2 separate regions of the Homo sapiens genome follow, and region 1 is linked to region 2. Evidence: promoter capture Hi-C in 16 types of primary human blood cells and fetal thymus (Javierre and others, 2016). All regions are on one chromosome and are shown on one strand. Each heading gives the region's core, a stretch centred on a gene start or on the middle of the fragment in contact. The rest is flanking DNA. Distances are from core to core; before and after follow the strand shown.

Region 1 (6,226 bases), core at 1,664-4,163, 98 kb before region 2:
TTTCACTCTTTTTGTTTTGTTTGTTTTTTGTTTTGAGACAGAGTCTCGCTCTCTTGCTCAGGCTGGAGTGCAGTGGTGCTATCTCGGCTCACTGCAACCTTCACCTCTCAGGTTCAAGCGATTCTTGGGCCTCAGCCTTCTGGGTAGCTGGGATTATAGGCATGCACCACCATACCTGGCTCTTTTTTTTTGTTGTATTTTTGGTAGAGATGGGTTTTCACCAAGTTGGCCAGGCTGGTCTTGAACTCCCAGCCTCAAGTGATCCACCCACCTTGGCCTCCCAAAGGCCTGAGATTACACACATGTGCCACTACGCCTGGCTCACTCTCATTCTTGAGAGATTACCAAGTACTCAGTCATTTTCTCTTAACACTTTGAATTCCATTATCCTTCTGCTTCCATTTTGCTGTTGAGAAGTCTCTTGTCAATTTACTTCTAAGGTGATCTACCTTTTCTCTTTGGTTGCTTTTATACTCTCTATTTGTCTTTAGTATTCGGCAGTTTAACCGCAGTGTGTTTGGGCATGAATTTCTTTTCATTTACCTTCTTGGATATGTTGTTTATGCATTACGGCTTCACATGTTCATCAGTACTGGACTCCAGTTAGATAAGTACTAGACTTTCTTATTCTAGCCTTCACATTTCTGAATGCCTCTTTTTTATTTTCCATCTTCTTCTCACTACTTACTCACTAATATTGATTGCCAAAGTAAAAATCAGAACAGAAGCAAAATAACATGAAAATATATAATTACACTGGCAAAAGTAAAAACAAACATTTCTCACTAAAGTTCATTAGTGAGAACAGTTCTGCACTTTACTCTTCCATTGATCAGTGAAGAAGACATACCTCTTTAATATTCAAAGATCCTATGAATCCTTCAAGAACTAAAAGCCTTCAAATTCCAGCAGATCCTGGATAGGGCATATTCTTTAAGACACTGTTGCTTTCATTCTGGTAATTTCTTTGCATATCTCTTTCAGTTTCAGGTTTTTCTTCTGCTGTGTCCAGTAAGCTATCTAACCCTTCCACTGAATTTTTATTTCAATAATTATACTTTTAACTTTTAGAAGCTTCACCTTTTTTTCACTTGGTTTTCAAATCATCCTGGTTATTCCTAATAGTTTATTGTTGCAAGCCTATGCCCTCTTCCTTTAAATAATTCATAATAGCTTTTTTATATTCTGTATCAGGCAATCCCAATTTCTGCTTTCCCCAGGTAGGGGAAGAGCAGGGAGTCTGTATCAGTTTTCTTGTTGATGATGAATGTCATTCAAGATGGTTAGCTTCTCACATGCTTGCTGATATTATTTGGAACTAGTTTCTTGACCTTAAACTGGGGGACTCCTACAAAGTCTGAATTAGGAATTCAGTAGCCAGGGGTGTTACTGACTTATGACTATTTCAGACACTATTGAGAATCCTGGCTTAATTCAGAAGCCCTACACTTAGCTCCTTCTCACTTATTGCTCAGAAAACTGCTACAGCCATCTGCCTTTGGGGCAATGCTCACCACTGTACCTCTCTGGGCATCTATCATGGGGAAAACCCTGACCTGCTAAGTGTGCCTGCAGCTCACAGCTTGGAACTGAGGGTATGTTTGTTTCATTTTGTTTCATTGATGTTGTTTTGGAGAGTTTTCACTACCTCTTGTGAGATCAGCAATGTCTTAAAGAATATGCCCGATGTAGAATTTGCTGGCAGTTGAAGTCTCTTTAATTCTCAAAGGGTTCTGAGGACCTTCAGATATCAAAAAGTTTTTTTTTCACAGATGAACAGAATGCTAATGTATAGAACTGTTCTCATTGATAAATGTTGGTGAAAATCCTGATGTTTGCCATTGTGATCATAGATATTTTATGATATTCCTTGACTTCTCTTTTGATTCTTGCTTTTTAAAGACTAATATTAGTGGGTGAAAATGCTACTTGGCTAGCTGACAGCTGGATGGCTCACAGAGCGCTCAGTTATTTGGCATGGCTAGGAGAGGAAGGTTTTTTTGATAAGAGAATTATTGATCCCTTCCTTACACCATATACAAAATTAACTCAAGATGGATTAAAGACTTAAATGTAAGACCTAACACCACAAAAACCCTAGAAGAAAACCTAGGCAATACCATTCAGGATATAGGCATGGGCAAAGACTTCATGTCTAAAACACCAAAAGCAATAGCAACAAAAGCCAAAATTGACAAATGGGATCTAATTAAACTAAAGAGTTTCTGCACAGCAAAAGAAACTATCATCAGAGTGAACAGGCAACCTACAGAATGGGAGAAAATTTTTGCAATCTACCCATCTGACAAAGGGCTAATATCCAGAATCTACAAAGAACTTAAACAAATTTACAAGAAAAAAACAACCCCATCAAAAAGTGGGTAAGGGATATGAACAGACACTTCTCAAAAGAAGACATTTATGCAGCCAACAGACATATGAAAAAATGCTCATCATCACTGGCCATCAGAGAAATGCAAATCAAAACCATAATGAGATACCATCTCACGCCACTTAGAATGATGATCATTAAAAAGTCAGGAAAAAAACAGACGCTGGAGAGGATGTGGAGAAATAGGAATGCTTTTACACTGTTGGTGGAAGTGTAAATTAGTTCAACCATTGTGGAAGACAGTGTGGCAATTCCTCAAGGATCTAGAACTAGAAATACCATTTGACCCAGCAATCCCATTACTGGGTATATATCCAAAGGATTATAAGTCATGCTACTATAAAGACACATGCACACATATGTTTATTATGGCACTATTCACAACAGCAGAGACTTGGAACTGACCCAAATGTCCATCAATGATTGACTGGATTAAGAAAATGTGGCACATATACATCATAGAATACTATGCAGCCATAAAAAAGGATGAGTCCATATCCTTTGCAGGGGCATGGATGGAGCTGGAAACCATCATCCTAAGCAAACTATCACAAGGACAGAAAACCAAACACTGCACGTTCTCACTCACAGGTGGGAGTGGAACAATGAGAATGCATGGACACAGGGCGGGGAACATCACACAGTGGGGCCTATCAGGGGGTGGAGGGTTGGGGGAGGGATAGCATTAGGAGAAATACCTAATGTAAATGACAAGTTGATGGGTTCAGCAAATCAACATGACACATGTGTAACTATGTAACAAACCTGCACGTTGTGCACATGTACCCTAGAACTTAAAGTATAAGAATAATAAAAAAAAGAAAAGATAACCTCAAGGTTATGGTTTTATTGCCCTGTAGAACATTAACCATTCTGAATCTTATCTCAGGATTCTTTCTTTCAGTGACTATATATTCTTGGTCCTTCAAGTTCTTCTTTGAACTAGATTTACCATCCTGCTTTTCCCTCGTTAATGGGTTTTAAATAAATCTTTGACACATGTTCAAAAAAAAAAAAAGAGAATTAAGTTTAACTCTTATAATGGAAATTTCTGACATGACTCAGCTGATGACTTTCAAAAGTGTATCACATTTTTTGTGATGATCCAAGGTCTTTCAATGAATAATCATTCTGAACATTATACACTGTATATGTAAATAAAATCTTGAACTGAATACACAGATCCTAGCATGCATCTTGGAACTTGCTTTTACTTTTTTTACACCGAGTTCATGATAACCAAGTGTTTTCTTGTTATGTGACTCAAGGAATCTAGAGAGGAAGATGTAAGGATATTATCGAGTGCTTTTCTGTAAAATTATTTATCGATTTACAGAACAAGGCTGGCTTCTCCAAATTTTCTTCATATTACTGATGAAGAAACACTCTAATAACACTTTTTTATTATTTTAGAGTCCATAGAACAATGTATTTTCAACAACTTACTCTTCTGATGATCAGGAAGTCTGTGATGTGGTGTGTTAGAGATGCATCAGTCACCATCTGAGAAAATTGTTTTGTGTATATATTTATTCTAATGTCTGCACATTTGTCTGCTAGAAAGTAACAGACAAATTTTTCATATCATTTGAAAAATTTTCTTTGATCTCTCCTTAATTGCTTTAATTTTAACAAAACATCAGGGACAATGAGACCTCAGAATGGTGTTGTTGATTTTACAATGAAATTAACAGCCCTGTGCTGGGCTTGCAGTTGGCTTTCCCATGAAGCAGTCTGGCCCCTGGAAGTTGGATTAATAAGCTACGACTGGCAGGTGAGAAGAATTAAAACTCTTTCTGAAGTAGGGATGAATAGACATACAAGTGGCTAACAAGCATACGGCATTCTTTTGTATACAGAAATACAAACTTAGATTACATTGTATTGTATGGTAGACTGTATTTACTTATATCTTTAGGTACGGCTATGGTTCCAAAATGATCTTTCACTAAAGATAAAAAATAGGATGGAACTTACCAAAGAAAAAAATATATCTCCAACATGTAAACAACAAATAAATGATAGCTTTCCAAGCTCTAAATTATATATATCTTTCAGTTGCTAAAGGTTTTATTTTACATAAGTTTGCAATATTAACATACCCAAGAATCTGTAACTATTTCACCTTAATTCAAACCCAATCTACTCATTCTCATCTGTCTGACTGAATTTTTGGCAAGAATCACTAATATAAACCTGTTCCATTTACATTGTAAAATTGTTTAGGAAGATCTACCAAAAGTTGTTTTATGCTGTGTTTATTCTTTTCAATCCATAGATAAGCCTGCAGCTTTGTGGTCAACTGTATTTTAATTATGAATATAACCCACATTTTACTACAACAGCAAATGTGAAGCTTCCAAAACACCTCTCAGAAAATACATGCAGATGAGTTAAACACATTTGCTAATTCCATTTTCCTGGCTTTTTATTGCGTATTGGTTATAAGCTAAGGAGATGTCTTTACTGACAGCCACTGGTCTAATGCAGCAGTATTCAGAATGTGGCAGCAATTTTGTCTAGTTTCAAAGTAGCAAAGAATGAGTAACTGCATTTCTTCAGAATGAGACTGAAGGCTTTATGGTTGCAAGATCCCTTTACTCTTTTTAAAATTATAGAAGACCCCAAAGAGATTTTGTTTATGTGGGCTATCTTTACTGACATTTATCACACTAGAAATTACAACTGAGAAATTATTATATACAAGAACACATAAGCAAACATTCCATTAGCTACCAGAGCTATGTCATCATCCTACATCATGTAGCTTCCAGAACACTCCACATACACTCCTGAGAGAATGAAAGTGAAAAAAGTAATAAAAATCATTATTATGAATATAGTTTCAACTTCATGGATGCCTTGAAAGGGTCCAAGCCCCAGACCACACTTTGGGAACTGCTGATGTATACTTGAAGAAGCCAAATGATAATGTTTCATTATGTAACCACATCCTACCAATATCATCTGAATCATTTTCTAGATGAGAAAACCTGAGTAGGATGTGGTTAAATAATGATATATGCAAATGTACCTCACATAGTATCTGGTACATACTAAGAATTCAATAAAAATCAGAATAAGAATTCAAAAAAAGTTTCCTTTTTCGACCCATCATCCATTTAGGAATCAAGATGTCCTAATTCTTTCCTAACTGCTGTTCTATATCTTTACGCCGAATAAAAACCCCAGCCGAAGCAGGGTTTATTTTATAAGGTAAATATTTATGAAAAATTTATTCTGTGCAATCAGTATACAATAAATGCTATTTTATTCATTGAGTATATTAAAATTATTTTGAAAGACTGCATATCAAAATATAAGTGGATTCACATATTTTCTTTATATTAAGTAGTATATTACTAAATGTTTAAATTTTCCAAGAATAATATTTTTCTTATTCTTACCTTTAAAACGTGTAGATGTCTATTTTCCCTTTCCAAGGGAGTAAAACCTTCCTTACATTTTAGTCTAGGAATTCTGGAATCCACATTTTGGATGGTTTGCAAATTACTGCAGGTTAGTATACAATACGCTTAGTTTTCTTCTATGTTTGCTTTTTAATCTATGATAGGTTAAGGACTCCCCTAGAGTCTTCAGGTTTTATTAAGTATTTTTTCTCCCTCCCTGCTTTCTACCCTTTCTAATCCTAAGTTGAAGGCACTTGGATTTCCTCCTCTCTCTTCTCTTTTTGCTACTCTTCTTCCCTGCTTGCTTTTAAGTTTTAGTGCCCTCAGAACTCAGATTTATCACTATAACCAACTACTGACAATGTTCTTGTCTTTCCATTTTCAGCTGTTTTCAGTAATGTTAGCTTTCCACAAATTTGTGACT
Region 2 (6,153 bases), core at 1,626-4,125:
GGGTTTGCTCATAAAGCCTTAAAATCATAGCAAAAGAGCAAGCAATAATAACTGCAACACTTTCTCCGTTTCAAAGATGACAAAATTGAGAGAAAGGATAAGGTACTTGCCTAAGCCATAATAATTGAAACAGTTGAAAATGTAAACAGTCATACTCTGAATGAAATTCTCGGCATTAAAATATTGATGTGTACTTATTGTTGAAGAGAAATTTTAAAAATATGTAAATCTGTTTTTACAAAATAATTTAAACATATACTATTATTGATGACAGATATTATCTAAACATCTACAAAAGTTTTCCCCAAAACATGGCCTATTGCATCTGAATAGATTTTATCCCAAGAACCTACTTTAAGTGCATTAAATAAAATTTAAAACATGACATTTTAGTTAAATAACAGCTTTAAAACATATACTATATTACTCCCCCAATCTACCTCTGTATTTTGAGAAAACGCAAACAGTAAGTAAGAACTTCCAAGAAGATTTCAAATAATCTTAAATCTAAATTTTTGATTTAGAACGCTATGAAACTAACTGAAGTTGATACGCTGGGGATATCTACACTTGCAAGATGGTTGTTCACAACTCTTACTATTCTTTTGTGGAGTCAAATTAGATCCGTTTCAAAGGACCTTTGTAAGCAATTAAAATCACTGCGCTTTTTGTTGCTTTGGGATATTAAGAGAGAGTAAGCAAAGTGGAGATCTACCAGGAAAAATAAGCAAATTAGAAATTCAGTTGTGGGGGGTGCATATGTTTACGCTTACACACTAGTGACTTCACCAAGTTTTCTCTATTAGTGAGTTTTTAAAAATCCTCTACAGCTAATATTTATTTAGTGGAATCCTATGAGACCAAAAACTTCTTCCAGTACATTTGCCACACCTAATGACATACTGTATTTCCAAGTCCAAGTGACAACGAATCCAGCAGAAAGACACCCACAATTAGAATGACCAACTCTGTCCTATGCATTGGGAATATATAGATGCTAGGAAAGAAGTGAAAGTGTGGGCCAGAATGTGTGAAACATTCAGAAAATGTCATTTTAACATATTTTCCTACTTCATGAAAGCCTCTTGTTATTAATAACGATTTTATAACCTGAAAACTAAATGAAATGTATTATTAATACTTGTATATGTTCCACGGTTGTGCCTTTTACACAGCTTTCATGCACATAATTATCTTGATAATTAAGGTTAGTGGCTAACATCCTTATTGTCAGAAAATTACAGAAGAAAAAAGTATTTGTTTATATTTATATAACACTGATTAAAAACAATTCACTACGACCATTAGTAATCCACTTCTAATTCATATTCCTCATGTCACACCTTTTCTCTTGTACACATTTTAAATGTCATAGGAATTTAGAAATATTGCAATTTAAAGCATAATCTAGAATTTTTTTAAAAGTAGTTCTGAAACATACAAAAAAATGAACATTTAGGAAACTAGTCCTTCAAAGAAAATATTATATTTTATCATTAAAAATATCAATCGCAAAAATATTTTCAAAGCACTTAAGTTCAATAAAGAATATGAGGCCGGTGGACATTTTAGTTTTAATTTTAAAAAGAAATTATATTCTTTTTAATGTAAAGAAATGAGAAAACGACATCCAAAAAGTCTTCAGCCTGGGATTCTACAAAACTTTATACCTCACTGATGCCATGGTTTTACAGCAGTTATTGTTTAAGAACTAGAAACAAACTTGTAAATATGAAAAAAGTTTTTGATTTTAAAAAAAACCATCATTAGTGTTTCTCTTTTCCTTCAAGTGAGTTTTAAAAGACTGAGATGGCCACCAGTTGATTCAAAGATCTCTTAAGACATAATTATTAGCAAGTTAACTATCAAATATCATATAATTTAAATCAGGGAGAAAAATTATGTGAAGTACACAAGAAGACAAAAATGGACAGTTTTGTAATACACTTCACTTTTTGGCTGAGACATTACCTTTAAAGTTTCGTATATTAAAGTGAATATTCAAATACACTTTATTTGGAATCAAATAAAGTGTATTTGATTCCAAAGTGAATCTGATTGAAAATATACTACACAAAACTTACTTTAAAACTTGAACAGAATGTTTTGATATATTACTCCAAATGCTAACTGGTAGCATCTATGAGTGTCTTCTGTCAAACTCCCCTAGGAGTGAAAGGTATTTCTTTAAGAGAAAAGCCACAGTGAATGTCCATGCCAGTCCCTATACCAGAAAGGTTTTCTAAATCATCTAGCACCATCAGTTGGTTCTGTTCTCAGTCAGCAATCGATCACTTAGCAATAGACAGAAAGACTGCCATAAAATACCTGAAACCTGTCGAAGATTTGCCCAGGTCCTTTTAAAGAGTTAAGTTATTCATTGTTCTCTTAATAAATCCAGTTAACAATTTGTCTCACGAATGACAGAAACAGTTGGGGTTAAAATAATGTACTTCAAAATCAGAGGTTTTCCAGGAATAGGTATTATACAACTCAGTTTATCATTGTCTGGTTTTATATCCAAATGATAATTTACACAAATAAACTTTACATTTTGTCCCTAATCTTGCAAGGAAAAGAAGAAAAATTTTAGTTTCTTCATGGCAGACGACTATTTTTGACTTGATTTCTTTTATAACAATGACACTATTTTTACAACCGTTAGCCTATGACCCAAGTGAATTGGATTCTTCTTATAAAACAAGAGCACTGCAAAAAAAAATGATATAAGGATAATACAATAATTTTGCAAATTTCGGACCTATCACCAACACATTCCAACAAAATGCAATGAGAGTGAGCCAACTCACCTAAGGAAAGGGAATTAAGCAGAATGCAGAAATGCAGGCTTCTGGTCACCAGCAGAGGTTAAGGCCCCTTCCTTACCTACCACTGACCTTATATAAAAGCCGCAGCTCGGTTACTCCCCGTTTCTGACTCCTTACCTTAGGCTCCTCCCTAAACACCGAGGCGTAAAGTACCACGACTACACACCCACCTTCCACCAAGGGACCTGAGATTTCTGTTAACCTCTGCTGCCTCTACCCCCCTCAGTTAGGCTCCCAGGAGGAGTGGTCAGCGCCTGGCACTTGCAGGAGCCCACAAAGCAGCGACTTCGCCTTTCCAGCCCCCCGGGGTGCGGCTGGGGGTCCTGGCTGCGCGCTCCATCCGCGGAGGCACGGAGGCACCCAGTCCCCGTCCCCAGCCCCTCCGCCGGGCGTAGGGCCAGCACAACGCGTCAGGGCACAGGGCCTGGCCAGCTACAAGCGCGCCCCTCGCTGAACGGTCCCCCGGTCCCCAAGCGGCGGTCGCCCCTGGGCTCTGGACAGCGAACGGGACCTCCTCCTCAGCAGGGGTGCCGCGCGGCCTCAGGACGGACGCACGCGGATCTTCGCTTCCCCGGGTCCAGACACCCTGCTCCAAAGTTCCCCCGGAGCGGCTCCCGACGCTTGCGCACCTCCGCCGGGGACGCGGAGGTCCCCGTGTCCCCGGCTCCGCGCCCACCCGGCGCTCTCCCGAGGGGGGCTGTCCTGGAAGCCGGGACGCACCGGCTCGCGTCCACTCGAGTCGGCACCGGCCGCGGCTCTCTGTGCCCGCGCCCTCCGCCCCTAGTGCGCGCTCCGGTAGACGCGACCCTCAGCCCGGGTGCCCTCAGCCCAAGACCCCTTCACCCGGTCACCCGTGAGCCGCCCGCCCGCGACCCGTCAGTCCGGGTCCTGCCGGACCATGACCCTGCCTCAGCCCCGGACCCCTCAGCCGAGACCCCCTTCTCCCCAGCTCTCATCCGTCTGGGACCCCGTCAGTTCCCGTTTCCTCGGCCCTAGCCCCCAGACCCTCGGCCCCAGCCCTCCGCGCCCCCTCCCTGAGCACTCCCCGCCCAGCCAGCAGCCGGTTCCCGAGCGCCGCGGGCACCCGTACTCTGACCTGCGGCCACGGCGGCGTGGCGCCCCTCTCCGGTGTCCTCGAGGCCGACCCAAGCGCCCCAGGCGGCGGCTGCGGCTCGGGCTCGGGCTCCGAGTGCGCTGGGCCCCGCCTGCCCGCGGCGGAGCCGGGTCGGGCCGAGCCGGGCCCGGCGCGGGGGCGGGCGCGGGCGCCGGCTGGGGGTGGGGGTGGGGGTGGGGGTGGGGGCGGGGGCGGGGGCGGGGGCGGGGGCGGCGGCGCGCGACTGGGAGGGAGCGGCCCGGGCTCGGCCGCCGCCCGCGCACAGTAGGGCCCACGGCGGGAGCCACCGGCTTTCCCGCGTCCACTCTCTGCCCCGCGGCAGGCTACCTGGTGTCGTTTGCTCCTCGCCACCACCGCTGGGAGGCGGCCCAGAGAGGGTCCCATTTCCGAGGAGGGATCCGAAGTTTAGGGGGATGCCCCCGGCCAGGGCCGGTCTGGGGAGACCGAGGTGTGGGGCTCCCTCTCGGCCAGAGTGGCTTGCCCTTCACACGGCGATCGGCCAGGCCGTCTTCCCAAGATGTTCTTTCCAGTGACATTTTAAAAGAAAATTTAATTAAAGCATATTTCGGGTCCCTTGGTTTTCTCTTCTGATCGGTGGTGCTGCACACTTTCAGAGTTCCTTGCGTTTGTAAGTTACATGGTTATTCACAAGTCACTGACTTTTAATCATTAAAAACATTTCTTAAACTCATTAACAGAATTTCTTAAATTTCTTAGCAGTGTTTCTGACACCGAGGGACTCAGACAACATGGGTGGGGACGGAGTGGGGACGTGAGGCACGAGAAACAGTTTCTCATGTGTTGGGTAGACAGTGACCTTTTCTTTTCCTGCCACGCTGTCCATCGTGACCTGTCCAAAGTGGGTTGGCAGGTGCGCGTTCAGAAAGCCGCTGGTCTCCTGGACTTGAGGCCCCTCTTTCCCTTTTTCCAGTCTTATTTCTGGAGCATACTGTTCTGGGCCTGATCCTCTTTGGGGAGGCAGCGATGCCTGAGGCCCCCCACTTCAGGAAGCTTATGGACTGTATGCTGGGGTGCTCTGCATTTCTTCCTAGCTTCATTGTGGTTATTGCCCCTCTGGTACAGAAGGTCCTCGTTTGTGGTTGAAGCAAAGTTTTGCGAGGATGGGTATCACAAGGGAAAATATTCAGCGCTTAAATCAACATAATCATGTCCTTCCTCCACAGCCCCTAAGATAAGAAGCTGAGAGCCACGGATCTTACAGGGACTGACCACTGAAAGACCATTTATTGGCCTGTGATTTAGGTAGTCAGGTTGACCCGGATCCACAGTCTCCACTCAGGCGGAAGTGCTCCGTGCGTCCTACTTCTTGTTAATTCCAGAGTTCCAATCTGCTTTTTTTTTTTCTTTCTTCCTTTCTTTTCTTTCTTTCTTCCATGAGACAGGGTGTTGCTGTGTCGCCCAGGCTGGAGTGCTGTGGCGCAATCACGGCTCACTTCAGCCTCGACTTCCCGGGCTCAAGGAATCCTCCCACCCCAGGCTCCCAAGTAGCTGGGACTACAGGTGCACACCACCATGCCTGGCTAATTTTTTTTTTTAATTTTAATTGTTTAGTAGAGACTGTGTCTTGACATGTTGCCTAGACTAGTCTGAAACTCCTGGGCTCAAGTGATCCTCCTGCCTCAGCTTTCCAAAGTGCTGGGATTATAGGCACCAGCCACTGCGCCTAGCCTGCTTTTTAAAATCACAGCTTTATTGAGGAATAATTAATATAATCTAAAATGTAAATACCATAGAAGTAAAATGTACAATTCAGGCCGGGTATGGCAGCTCACGCCTGTAATCCCAGCACTTTGGGAGGCCGAGGCAGGTGGATCACTTGAGGCCGGGAGTTCAAGACCAGCCTGGCCAACATGGTGAAACTCCATCTCTACTAAGAAATACAAAAATTAGCTGGGCGTGGTGGCACGTGCCTGTAATCTCAGCTACTCGGGGGGCTGAGGCAGTAGAATCGCTTGACCCTGGGAGGCAGAGGTTACAAGCCGAGATTGCGCCACTGCACTTCAGCCCCAGAGCAAGACTCCATCTCAAAAATAAATAAATAAAATGTACAGTTCAATGAGTTTTAGTTTATTGACAGAGTTGTGCCATCATCACCAAATCTACCCTTAGAACATTTTCATCACTCCAAAAAGGAACCCCCTCTCCATTAACAGTCATTCCACCAACTCTAGATAGAGATATTCTTTCTCT

The links. The method cuts DNA at HindIII sites, captures the fragments that hold promoters and counts their contacts. A CHiCAGO score of 5 or more calls a contact.
Region 1: a contact is called between a fragment that was not itself captured here and the fragment with the promoter of PPARG in region 2, in 3 of 17 cell types (M0 macrophages, monocytes and M2 macrophages). The highest score is 6.3, in M0 macrophages.

The regions. Positions count from the first base shown.
Region 1 is chr3:12,383,705-12,389,930 of GRCh38, reverse strand. The region is part of intron 4 of PPARG (peroxisome proliferator activated receptor gamma); the gene reads right to left. Among named protein-coding and RNA genes, the nearest start is that of TSEN2, 98 kb to the left of the region's middle. The HindIII fragment of the contact is 3,674 bases long and covers 1,077-4,750 here.
Region 2 is chr3:12,285,792-12,291,944 of GRCh38, reverse strand. PPARG (peroxisome proliferator activated receptor gamma) reads right to left here and starts at 2,875. Exons shown (of 8, transcript NM_138711.6): 1 at 2,811-2,875. RefSeq lists an enhancer at 4,314-4,892. The HindIII fragment of the contact is 6,976 bases long and covers 1-4,955 here.